2 separate regions of the Homo sapiens genome follow, and region 1 is linked to region 2. The links are contacts of gene promoters, found by promoter capture Hi-C in blood cells and fetal thymus (Javierre and others, 2016). All regions are on one chromosome and are shown on one strand. Each heading gives the region's core, a stretch centred on a gene start or on the middle of the fragment in contact. The rest is flanking DNA. Distances are from core to core; before and after follow the strand shown.

Evidence for each region. The method cuts DNA at HindIII sites, captures the fragments that hold promoters and counts their contacts. A CHiCAGO score of 5 or more calls a contact.
Region 1: the fragment with the promoter of RTF1 here is called in contact with the fragment with the promoter of KNSTRN in region 2 in 1 of 17 cell types (neutrophils); the score reaches 5.3 in neutrophils.

The regions. Positions count from the first base shown.
Region 1 is chr15:41,415,236-41,421,143 of GRCh38, forward strand. It overlaps RTF1 (RTF1 homolog, Paf1/RNA polymerase II complex component), which reads left to right and starts at 1,860. Exons shown (of 18, transcript NM_015138.5): 1 at 1,860-2,078. The coding sequence starts at 1,881. RefSeq lists an enhancer at 1,590-1,689 and a silencer at 1,750-2,339. The HindIII fragment of the contact is 7,291 bases long and covers 1-4,545 here.
Region 2 is chr15:40,378,655-40,385,450 of GRCh38, forward strand. KNSTRN (kinetochore localized astrin (SPAG5) binding protein) reads left to right here and starts at 4,067. Exons shown (of 9, transcript NM_033286.4): 1 at 4,067-4,390; 2 at 4,574-4,668. The coding sequence starts at 4,182. RefSeq lists enhancers at 2,945-3,445, 4,071-4,140, 4,100-4,623, 4,389-4,558, 4,624-5,145. The HindIII fragment of the contact is 4,100 bases long and covers 1,223-5,322 here.

The DNA of each region.
Region 1 (5,908 bases), core at 610-3,109, 1.0 Mb after region 2:
TTTTAGTAGAGATGGGGTTTTGCCATGTTGGCCAGGCAGGTCTTGAACTCCTGCCCTCAGGTGATCGGCCCTCTTCAGCTTCCCAAAGTGCTGGGATTACATGTGTGAGCCACCACGCCCGGCCCCTACTTTATATTCCTAATCACTAAAGGAAATAACTTCTGGAGCTGACCTTTTTATCAGCTGACCTCAAACTTAAGTATAAAAACTTATTTCCTATACACACCAGTTCCCAAAACCTTCTTCTCTCCTCTTGTATTTCATTTTTTTGATGAAGGGCTCACCTGCCACTAGCTTCCTAAGCTAGAATCTGAACATCAATAGGTATCTGGGAGCACTCCTTCCCTTACCCCTATCCCAAATCCTGGGGATTCTACGTTCCAAATTATCCAGAGTCCATCCACTTCTTTCCATTCCCACAGCTTCGTCCTTAGGTCAGGACACCATCATCTCTTGCCAAGAAGACAACAACAATCCAAGCGATCTCCCTGCCCTTAGTCCATTCGCCATACTGCGGTCAGAGTAATCTTTGAAAAACACAAATCAGGCCTGGGTGCAGTGGCTCATGCCTATAATCCCAGCACTTTGGGAGGCTGAGGCGGGCGGATCACCGGAGGCCAGGAGTTTGAGACCAGCCTGGCCAACATGCTGAAACCCCATCTCTACTGAAAATACAAAAATTAGCAGGGCGTGGTGAAGGGCGTCTGTAATGCCATCTATTCCGGAGGTTGAGGCTGGAGAATCGCTTGAACCCAGGCGGCAGAAGTTGCAGTGAGCCAAGATCGCGCCATTGCACTCCAGCCTGGGCGACAAGAACGAAACTCCGTCTCAAAAAAAAAAAAAAAAAAAAAATTAGCCGGGCGTGGTGGCAGGAGCCTGTAATCCCAGCTACTCAGGAGGCTGAGGCAGGAGAATCGCTTGAACCTGGGAAGCGGAGTTGCAGTGAGCTGCCACTGCACTCCAGGCCGGGCAACAAGAGCGACTCCGTCTCCAAAACAAACGAACAAACAAACAAACAAACAAAAAAACACCACCACAAATCAGGCTGGGCACGGTAGCTCACGCCTGTAATCCCAGCACTTTGGGAGGCCAAGGCAGGAGGATCCCTTGGGCCCAGGGGTTCGAGACCAGCCTGGGCAATATAGGGAGGCCCCGTCTCTACTAAAACACAAAACCACACACAAATCAAATCATGTGGTTCTTCAGTTTAAAATCTTTCAATACTCAAGTTCAAACTCCCTAATTCAGCTTACTTATTAGGATCTGAGTGAGGCAGTCGCCGTGTCCTTCTCCAGCCTGGTCTGTCGCCTATCCCCACCCACAATCTCTGCTCTGGCCATAACTAACTTCAGTTCTCCGAACCTAACTTTATTATCGCCGGGCCATTTTGCCTACGCTGTTCTCTGCATGCAACACTCTACTCTCCTTTTGGGTAATTCAGATGCATTCTCCAGGTCCCAGCTCAGCTGTCATTCGCACAGCCCGGGTCGGCAGTCTCCAGCCCCCAACCGGTGTCCACCGCGTGGTCCAGGCGACTTATGTCTTCCAGGCCGTCGGCCCCTTAAGTACACGCCATCAGTGTTGGACAGCTTGAAAGTAGGTAGACACGTGAGCCCCCTCAGAGAGAACCTGGATCCTTGCGGCTCCAGCCCCCGATAGGAAGAGAGCCCACCAAACTTCGGCTCCGCAGCAGAGATACAGCCAAGGACTCCAGGGCAGTCGCGGGTAAAGCCACCACCACTCTCTGCCGGGAACCAGCGACGGGGGAAGGCCCCGCCTCTCACGCTGCGTCGGGGGCGGGGCAGGGCGGGGCACCCGGCGACCTGCGAACGGCGTGCGGCGAGCAGGGGGCGGGGCCAGGGGGGCGGAGCGGAGCGCGCATGCGCGGTCGCCTTTGTGTGGGTCGAGCAGCGGCGGCGGCGGCGGCAGTGGCGGTCCCACTGGCAGGCGGGCAAGAGGGGAGTCCGGGCGGCGGCCGGCGTGGGAGCCGGGGGACCACCATGGTAAAGAAGCGGAAAGGCCGCGTCGTGATCGACTCGGACACAGAGGACAGCGGCAGCGACGAGAACCTGGATCAGGTGAGGGCAGGCCGCGGAGGCGCGGGCCGGCGGAGCCAGAGGGCTGTCGGGGCCGCGGGAGCCGGAGACGGCCGGGCCTGGAGCCTTCCTACCAGAGCGCCCAGCTCGCCCCGTGCCCTGGGCACCACTACAGCCCCTTTCCCGTCTTCCTGGAGTGTGCGGGGCCTTGGAGACCGGCCCGGGCCTGGAGACGGAGCCCCGAGGACTTGGCGCCTTGGGCGGGGAGGCGGGGCAGGGACCGGGCCGTTGGGCCTCGGGCTCGGGGGTAGCGAAAGGGGCCGCGATCTTCCGGGGCCAGATCGGGGCGGCGGGCTGTAGTCCAGGAGATCCGGGCTGGGAGAGATAGGAAGTATCGCCCGCCAACCTGGGAGGCTGGGAGGTTTTGGAGGAGGTGCAAGGGTGCGCGTCGAGCAGTTGGGGGCGAGGGCCAAGAAGATCCGGACTCTGGAAGATGGAAGTTTTTCGGACAAGGGATGTGGACAGAGGAAGGACACTCGTAAATGTTCCTAGGAGCCTCTGCCATGCTTGCCAAGGATGACTTAGCTGTGGGCACGAGTTTATTTGGCGACTAGGGTCGTTTGTGTTTGAGAAGGGCCCTTGTTGAGGTGTCAGACCCAAAAAAACACTCTTGGGTGGAGGAAAGAGGGCAGATACTGGAAGAAATAGAGAACTATGTAGGGCGACATGGAGGGACTGTGCATAGCCCAGGCCTCCTCTTGGCCCTTTCACGCAGCATCCCAGAATTCTTTCTTACTTGAAGACTGCAGGAAGCACTGAAAGTAACTTTTGGCCTCAGTGTCTTGGGGTTGAACTGTTTATATACTCTAGAAAACATTGTAGGGAGGAATCTGCTCTTTGTAGCAGTGCTCTAGTGATACCAGGCGATACAAAGATGGTCTCCTTTCTGTTTAATGAGCAAATGATGTAAAGAAAGAATATGCAAGAGATAGTAGCTTTTGAGTAGAAAGAGTATTGAACTTGGAGTCTGAAAATTTGAATTCTAGGCTGGGCTTATGCTATTTTCTAGCTATATATCTTTGGTCTTAAATGTAAAATGAAAATGTAACATCAGCCTTGTGTATCTAATTGGTTTATTGTAAAGATCAAGTGTTTGTAAAAATTGATGGCAGTGCAAGCATTTGCTAATTGTAAAGTTTTTCTATGAATGGCTTCTTGGGGGTCTTTTATATGAAGCCAGAGGTCTCAGTTTGAAAGTATTAGGGGCTGGGCGCGGTGGCTCACGCCTGTAGTCCCAGCACTTTGGGAGGCCAAGGCTCATCTGAGGTCGGGAGTTCGAGACCAGCCTGACCAACATGGAGAAACCCCATCTCTACTAAAAATACAAAATTAGCGGGGCGTGGTGGCACATGCCTGTAATCCCAGCTACTCGGGAGGCTGAGGCAGGAGAATTCTTGAACCCGGGAGGCGGAGGTTGCAGTGAGCCTGGGCAACAAGAGCGAAACTCCATCACAAAAAAAAAAAAAAAAAGAAAAGAAAGAAAAAGAAAGTATTAAGGCATAAAAGGGGAGGACTTTTTATTTATTTATTTATTTTTTTTTGAGACGGAGTCTCGCACTGTCGCCCAGGCTGGAGTGCAGTGGTGCGATCTTGGCTTCACTGCAAGCTCCGCCAAGGGGAGGACTTTTAAGAAGAAAAGGATTGAGGAGGTGCTGTAGAAAGAAGACTGCTTTGAAAATGGTGGTAGGGAGATGGAGAAGTAATGGGGCCTGTGTAAGACTATCTAAGGAATAGAAACTTTGTTTTGGGGTAGGAATTGAAAATGTTCTCATTGAAAGGCTCCTGAAGTTTACAAAAATATCAAAAGTATAATTTCGACTGTAAAAGTTTGATTGGTAGATAATTTTAGACTGGCAATTAGAAGGAGTAGAATCTATTTTTTTCTGTCTTTTCATCTACAAATGTGAATGTTTCAGACAATAACAACATTGGCTACCATTTATATAGTGCCTAGAGTAGGCACTTTAATTGTTTTGTTTAGATTTTCAAGTTTTCACATTATGGTAAATTTGGAATTATTTCCTCTACTTTACATAAAGAAAATGGAGGTTGAAAAAGTTAAATAACTCACAACTAGTAAGTGGTAGCATTGGGATTTGAACCCAGATCTGCATGAGTACAAAGCCTATACTGTTTCCACTATACCAACTCAATCTGTTAGTTTTAAATTTTTTTCATACTGCAAAATGATAATGTTTCACAGTCATTTTTCATGGTGCTAGAGTTCGTGTTTATAAAGTACACTGGATAGTTTAGAGGAAATTGGTACATACATTAAAAGGATTATTTGGGGGGATTTCTTGGTAAAGCACTCTCAAGACATCTGTTCAAGTGATGAATGAACTGAACTGCAAATTATTGTCCTTAGTAGTTTCCCACAGAATTCTGATGAATAAAATAAGTTGAGTGCTTCTTTTCGTGGTAGAGATATTTCACCTGATCCACAAAAAGCTTTTTCAAAGTGGGAACTGCAGAGAATTGCCACTTTATTTATTTATTTATTTTTGAGACGGAGTCTTGTTCTGTTGCCTGGGCTGGAGTTCAGTGGCACAATCTCAACTCACTGCAACCTCCGCCCACTGGGTTCAAGCGATTCTCCTGCTTCAGCCTCCCGTGTAGCTGGGACTACAGGTGCCTGTCACCACACCTGGCTAATTTTTTGTATTTTTAGTGGAGACAGGGTTTCTCCATGTTGGCCAGGCTGGTTTCGAACTCCTGACCTCAAGTGATATGCCCACCTCGGCCTCCCAAAGTGCTGGGATTACAGGCATGAGCCACCGTGCTTGGCCGGAATTGCAATTTTAAATCCAATTCTAAATATCTATTTGTAAAAGGAAATTAACATAAAATGTGTAATACCTAATACATTTTAACAACAAATTTAACTTCCTCCCCTTCAGCTTCTTATTTGCATTCTTGTTATCAGATGGGAACTAGATCAAAATTCCCTTTCCCTGCACATCCTAACAGGGGTATTGATGCCTTCAGTTTGTCTGTTCAGCACTATGCCAGACTCTCAGAATAATCAAAGAGGAAGATCTCTGCCCTCTAGACATTTTCACGAAAGACCTTTAGCACAAGTTCACTGTCAGTGCTGCTTGGGGGTCTTTAGGAATCCTAATGCATTCTGGATCTTTCCTGCCCCAAATACCTTGTGCTGCTCCATCTGGTTCTGAGTCTTCACTGGGGGTATAACATTAGACTTGCTGTCTAGCGTATGGTACTTGTGGAAGGAACAAACCATGACAGATCACTGAGTATCTAGTGTGGATTGGAATGCAGTTCGTAAGGAGGCCTTTTGTCCCTGGGTTTTTCAGATGGGAATCTGAGCCATTATGTCAAAAATTTTACCTCCAATTTATTCCTTACTGAAGGTGAGATATATGGGCCTTCTAGGCTGGTTTTTCCTGGTGGTAGGGGCAGACCTCTGTGTCAGAAGCCACCTGGGTTGCTTATTTAAAATGTAGGTTGGGACTTAGAGGGTGCAGCAGTTCCCATCCTAGACCTACTGAATCAGACTCTCAGGGGATAGAGGTCTGGACTCTGCATTTGTAACAGGTATAGCTCAAGTAATTATGATTTATGTTAGTGATTAAGATCACTGCCTATATGCAGGTTAATCTTTTTAGTAACACACTATAAGTATTTAGAAGAGAAATAGCTTCCTGTGTCTGCCATAGTACTTCCAAATTAAGCGTACATGTATAGGCTGGGCATGGTGGCTCATGCCCTGTAATCTCAGCACTTTGGGAGGCCAAAGTGGGAGGAACACTTGAGCCCAGGTGTTTGAGATCAGCGTAGGCAACAAAGTG
Region 2 (6,796 bases), core at 2,817-5,316:
AAAAAAGTCTGAGATGGAAAATCACTGAATGGAATTAACAACAGTTTAGACGTTGCAGAAAAAACAGTAGTGCACTTGAAGACATAACAATAGAAATTATCCAAAAAACACCAAGAGAAAGAATTTTAGAAATGAATACAAAGGGCTAGGCGCAGTGGCTCATGCCTGTAATCCCAACACTTTGGGAGGCTGAGGCGGGCGGATCACCTGAGGTCAGGAGTTCGAGACCACCCTGGCCAACATGGTGAAACCCTGTCTCTGCTAAAAATACAAAAATTAGCCTGGTGTGGTGGTGCATGCCTGTAATCCCAGCTACTCAGGAGGCTGAGGCAGGAGAATCGCTTGAGTACGGGAGACAGAGGTTGCAATGAGCCGAGATGGCACCACTGCACTCCAGCCTGGGCAAAAGAATGAGACTCCATCTCAAAAAAAAAAAAAAAAAGAAAAAAGAAAAGAATACAAAGTATACACAATGTGACCAGGTGGGTGGCTCATGCCTGTAATCTCAGCACTTTGGGAGGCCAAGGTGGGAGAATCAGTTGAGGCCAGGAGCTCCCGACCAGCCTGGGCAACATAGCAAGACTTCATCTCCACAAAAAAATTTTAAAATTAGCCAGGCATGGTGGCACGTGCCTATAGCCCCAACTACTTGGGACGCTGAGGCAGGAAGATCGCTTGAGCCCAAGAGTTGAAGGCTGCAGTGAGCTATGATCGCACAACTGCACTCCAGCCTGGGAAACCAAGCGAGACCGTATCTCAAAAAAAAAGAAAAAAAGTATACACAATATACAACAGGCAGAAAGTATGTCCTTTACAATGATTTAAAGTTATGAAAAAAATTTAAGCCAGGTGAGATAGTGCATGCCTACAGTCTTGGCTACTTAGGAGGCTGAAGTGAGAGGATGGCTTGAGTCCAGAAGTTCAAGGCTACAGTACGCTATCTATGATCACACCTGTGAATAGCCACTGCACTCTAGCCTGGGTGACATAGCAAGATCCTGCCTCTAAAAAAATAAAAATAAAAGTAAACTTAAATTTTAGGTATCAAGTGAAAACAGGCAAGAGGGTTTTTTTATTTTTTTATTTTGTGGGGGCGCATGAATAAAGGAATTTAAAGATGCTACTCTGGATCCCATCTTCCTTCTTCCTTGCTCCTGAGTATCCTTTCCCTCTGTTCTGCTGGCTCGTTCCTATCAGCACACATATCCACAGCTTTAAGGAAAGCTTCCTTTGACCCCCATAACCCATCTCCAGTTACTGCCCAGTTGCTCTGCTCTTTTTGCAACAGACGCCTGGAGTTCTGCCATCTCTGCTTCCTCATCTCCCACGTACTCTTCAACCCATGCCCATGTGACTGCCACTCCAAACGCTCCACCAGCATTCCTCTTGCTAGACTCATCATGACTTCTCTGTTGCTAAATTCATTGGATGCTTTTCGTTCTCATTCTGCTTGCCCTTTCAACTATTTTCAATAGTTCACCACTCCCTCCTTCAGCAGCTTGCCACTTCCTCCTTGGATTTTGGAACACCACCCTTTTTTGTTTTCTTCTCACCTCTCTGGCACTTCTTTATCAGGTTTCTTGGCAAGCACCTTATTACCATTGCAACTTTTAAATGCAGGTGTCCCTGTCCTTGGCCCAAAGGCTCTCTGCACACTTCTTCTCTTGAGCTCATCAAATATCAAGGTTTTATTTTATTTTTTATTTTATTTTGTTTGAGACAGAGTCTCGCTCTGTCACCCAGGCTGGAGTACAGTGGCACCATCTCGGCTCACTGCAACCTCCACCTCTGAGGTTCAAGTCATTCTCCTGCCTTAGCCTCCCAAGTAGCTGGGATTACAGGCATGCACCACCATGCCTGGCTAGTTTTTTGTATTTTTAGTAGAGATGGAGTTTCACCATGTTGGCCAGGCTGGTTTCGAATTTCTGGCCTTAAGTGATCCCACCTCAGCCTCCCAAAGTGCTGGGATTACAGGTGTGAGCCACTGTGCCTGGCCATTTTTTTGTATTTTTAGCAGAGACGGGGTTTCATCATGTTGGCCAGGCTGGTCTCGAACTCCTAAATATCAAGATTTTAAGTACATTCATATGTCAACAACTCCCAAGGGTGTATCTCCAATCCAGGCTCTCTTCTGGGCTCAGGGCCTGTATTTCCAATTGCCTACTTGACCACTCCACCGGAATGCCTCAAAGATATGTCGAGGTTTTCCACGTTCAAAACCCAACTCTCAATCTCCCCCAGCAGAAAATAGTGACTCTATCCACACAATTATTCAAGCCCAATTATTCGAAAAGAAAAAGGACTGGGCGTGGTGGCTCACGCCTGTAATCCCAGTACTTTGGGAGGCCGAAGCGAGCAGATCACCTGAGGTCAGGAGTTTGAGACCAGTCTGGCCAACATGGTGAAACCCCGTCTCTACTAAAAATATAAAAAATTAGCCAAGCGTGGTGGTGGCACTGTAGACCCAGCTACTCGGGAGACTGAGGCAGGAGAATCGCTTTAACTCAGGAGGCGGAGGTTGCAGTGAGCCGAGATCGTGCCACTGCACTCCAGCCTGGGCAACAGAGTGAGACTCCGTCTCCAAAAAAAAAAAGAAAGAAAAGAATATATATATAAAGTATATATAAATTGAGCCAGGTACAGTGGCTCATGCCTGTAATTCCAACACTTTGGGAGGCTGAAGTGGGAGGATCATTTGAGGCCAGGGGTTTAAGACCAGCCTGGGCATCATAGCAGGACCCCATCTCTACAAAAATTAGCTGGGTCTGGTGGCAGGCACCTTTAGTCTTAGCTACTCAGGAGGCCGAGGTGGGAGGATCTCCTGAGCCCAGGAGTTCAAGGTTGCAGTGAACTATGATTGCACTCCAGCCTGGGCAACAGAGTGAGACCCTGTCTCAAAAAATAATAATAAAATAAAATAAAATATAAATTGGATGACACTCTCCTGCTATAATACTTCAGTGGCTTTCCATTACTTTTAGATAAAATCTAATCTCTATACCTTGGCCTGTAAAATCTGTCTTTTGACTGCTTATTTCTCCAGCTTTATCTGTACCACTCTCTTCCTATCTTTCTGTGCCTATAGAAGAACCCATTTCTGCCTTGGGACTTTGCATTTTCCCCTTTCCCCAATGAAATTAACTCCCTCTCCTTCCTTAATCAAACATCATCTCAGAGAGGTCTTCCCTGAGCCCCCAATATAATCTAAGTTTCCCTGCTTTTCTATCTTATACGATTTTGTACTTTTTCTTCATAGTGTGTGTGTTTTGGTTTGATTTTTGAGATCACGCTCTGTCACCCAGGGTGAAGTGCAGTGGCGCGATCTCCGCTCACTGCAACCTCTGCCCCGCCCAGGGTCACATAATTCCCCCACCTCAGCCTCCAGGGTAGCTGGGACTACAGGAGCATGCCACGACACCTGGCTAATTTCTGTATTTTTTGTAGAGACGGGGTTGCACCATGTCGCCCAGGGTGGTCTCAAACTCCTGGACTCAAGCAATTCACCCGCCTCCACCTCCCAAAGTGCTATAATTACAGCTGTGAGCCACTGTGCCCAGCCTTCTTCACAATTTCACCACAATCCGTAAATATATATTTATTTATGTGATTATTTGTTCACTGTCTGTTTTCTAAGTTGTAAACTCCAGGAGGGCAGAGCCAAGGTCAATCTTGATATTTGCCCTCCCTCACTCCCTTCCACCCACTGAGAACACTGTTGGGTAATCAGCAGGTACTCAATAAATGCCAGATGAAATGAATGAGCTAGTGCATTTAGTAATGGAAGCTACCCTGTTTATTGGGAGTAGCTTTGAATCACTACTGAAAATCTGGATAAGTGCTATTAAAATTAGGACCTCAGGTAGGTGCCTCAGGTATCTCAGCCCATAGGTCCTTTTCTTCAAGCCTCACCTGCCACTCTCCACCTGTAACGTGTAGTTTTCATCCAAATAACCTGTGCTCCTGGCAATATCCCTAACAATCCCAAACTAAATAAAGAGGATTGTGACATGGACCCTAAATGTCGCCACGTTTGCGTCTCCATCCCGGAATATGACGCTGGTAGCTCATTAGCTCCATTCAAGCCTACAAATTGCATCACCCTCCTCCTCTGCCCAGACCTGGGGGCTCCAACACCTTTCGCTAGGTCTGGCTCTGGCCTCTGAGCGAACCTTCCGTACAGTATGGCGGCTCCCGAAGCCCCGCCCCTGGACAGAGTTTTCCGTACAACATGGCTGTCTACAGAGTGCGATTCCCACCCACTTCCGCCTAGCTACCGGAAGTTTCTATTTGAAACCCAGGCGGCCGACTTAGCCGGTGGCACGACAGTTGCTGCAGGGAATCTTTTAAACGAGAGCGAGAAGGACTGCGGGCAGGACCGGCGGGCTCCTGGGTTCGGCTCTCCCGGGGCGAGGGACTGGGCTGGATGGGAGGAAGGACGGAATGAGCTGGGAAAGGAGGATTTTCTCTTTTCCAACCCCGAGCCGGGGCCTGTCGGGTCGCGCTATCCCCGGGCCCTCCACTCTCTCGGGCCCAGTGGCCCAGCGCTGGGTAACATTCATCCTGTACCTTCCAGGGTTCAGCCGTGCCGCCTCGTTACGATGACCAGTGTGGTTAAGACAGTGTATAGCCTGCAGCCCCCCTCTGCGCTGAGCGGCGGCCAGCCGGCAGGTGAGGGTCCAAGCCACGCCCGGGGCACTGCGGCCTGGCCGGGGATGGTCTCGGGAGTGTGGAGATCGAATGGGTGGCGCGGGCACGGGGAAGGGCGTCCCGTCGGCCCTGAAAACCTGTGAGCCCCCTATAACCAGGCTATGTAGGTTTATGATGGGAGTTAAGGGAAGGACCATGTGGTAGGATTTTAGACGTGCTCTGCACTTTTCTGCCCGCATGTGTACTGTATTCATCAGTTAGATTCAAGTTGTTGGTTATTGTACAATGTTATTCCCATTAAGCTAGGAATCCCCTTCTAATCGGTTATCGTCTTATTTCCAGACTTGGGCTATCTTGAGGGATTGGGTTTGTTTTCAGGGAGGAAAGAGGAGAATCATTTGAGAAGTGGGATACTTAGGGTTCTTTGTTCACCTTTATATCTGCACCGTGTTTCTCATTACCACATTCTCAATACACGTTTGTTGAGTGAAGTGGGAGAGAGGGGTTAGACCTAGGCACAGTATTTGAGAAACTTGGGCGAAGAGAGAGACATGATTAAAAATAGTTTTTAATTGCTTTGCCATCTGCTTTGTGTTGCTTTGCTTGTGGTTGAAAGTCATCTCATGGGGTCTGCAGTCGGGGAACTGCCTAATCTAGAGATTATAGTACAGAGTAAGCTTCAGACATCAGAAAACTGTTGTGGGAGATTATGGAGTAGCTATTTATGATCCCTTCCCAGATGATTCCACTCAGCTGGTACATAAACCTTGGCAAGATGGAGCGCTGAAGTGGCCAGGCACGGTGGCTCACGCCTGTAATCCCAGCACTTTGGGAGGGCGAGGTGGGCAGATCACGAGGTCAGGAGATGGAGACCATCCTGGCTAACACGGTGAAGCACCGTCTCTACTAAAAAATACAAAAACTTAGCCGGGCGTGGTGGCGGGCGCCTGTAGTCCCAGCTACTTGGGAGGCTGAGGCAGGAGAATGGCGTGAACCCGGGAGGCGGAGCTTGCAGTGAGCCGATATTGCGCCACTGCACTCCAGCCTGGGCGACAGAGCGAGACTCCGTCTCAAAAAAAAAAAGATTGAGCTCTGAAGTAAATAGGCTTTTCTCCAAAGGCTTAATGGGTTGTTTGTTGTCTTGTGTTGCCGCAGAACACCTGAATGGTAATCCTGGCACCAGCGGGGACTAGGAGTTGCTGGAAGAACTGGAGCCAGGTCTCTCAGCTGCTGTGTCTTTCCCTTAGATGCGGTGCCCCTGAGTCAGTGGGCAGTGACTAGCTCTCTCAGCCAAGTTGGAAGTGTTCATCTCTTTGATTTCTATCTCTGTCCCAGCTTTATGATCATATGTAACTGGAACAGTTTCAAATTTTTAGGCTGCCTCCCAGGATTTTTGTTTTGATTTTGAGCGTGGGCTGGATAAGTAATATATGCACATGTGAAAAAAAAAAAGGTGGAAAACCATATACAATGATAAACAAGTTTCCTTCCCTTCCTTGACACCAGCCATCCAGTTCCTCTCCCAGTGTCTCCCATTTTTAAGAGACAGCTTTGTTAAATCCTACTGAATTTTTCCTACAGTGCAATCCTAGATTTTAGCAAATACAAATTATTGGAACCAATTCTAGTCAATGAAGAGTGTTAATTTTGATCAATTGACTGTTAACTCCATTTTACATGGAGTAGATTTGTTATTGTTTAAAACTTACTAATACTTGAGAGAGGAGAAGATGATATTCCTCCAAGATTACCTTTTTCTTCAGACAGACACCTCAGAAAGAACCCTTTTAATACTTCATTTGTACTGCATTTCTTCAATTTGATTTGATTGTAATGGCTCTTAAGTTAGGTCAAACTTAAAGGGGCCATTTTACAGTGAACAAAGTGAGAGTAAGTCCAGAAAAGCCTGCATGTGAGGGTGGGGGTGCTTAACTCCAGATAAGTTACTTGAATTTGCTGTAGAACACAAATGATAGATTGTGTGGTTGCGGGGCTGGCACAAGGATAGAGGAAAATGCTCTCCTTTGGGGAAGAAGAGTGTTATGGCAGGGCCATTTCTCTGGTTATCTGGCAAGAAGATCAGATTAGAATGCCTAATAGGGAAACTCTAAACTTAACAAAGGGTAAACAAAAGGGCTAGTGGTAGAGG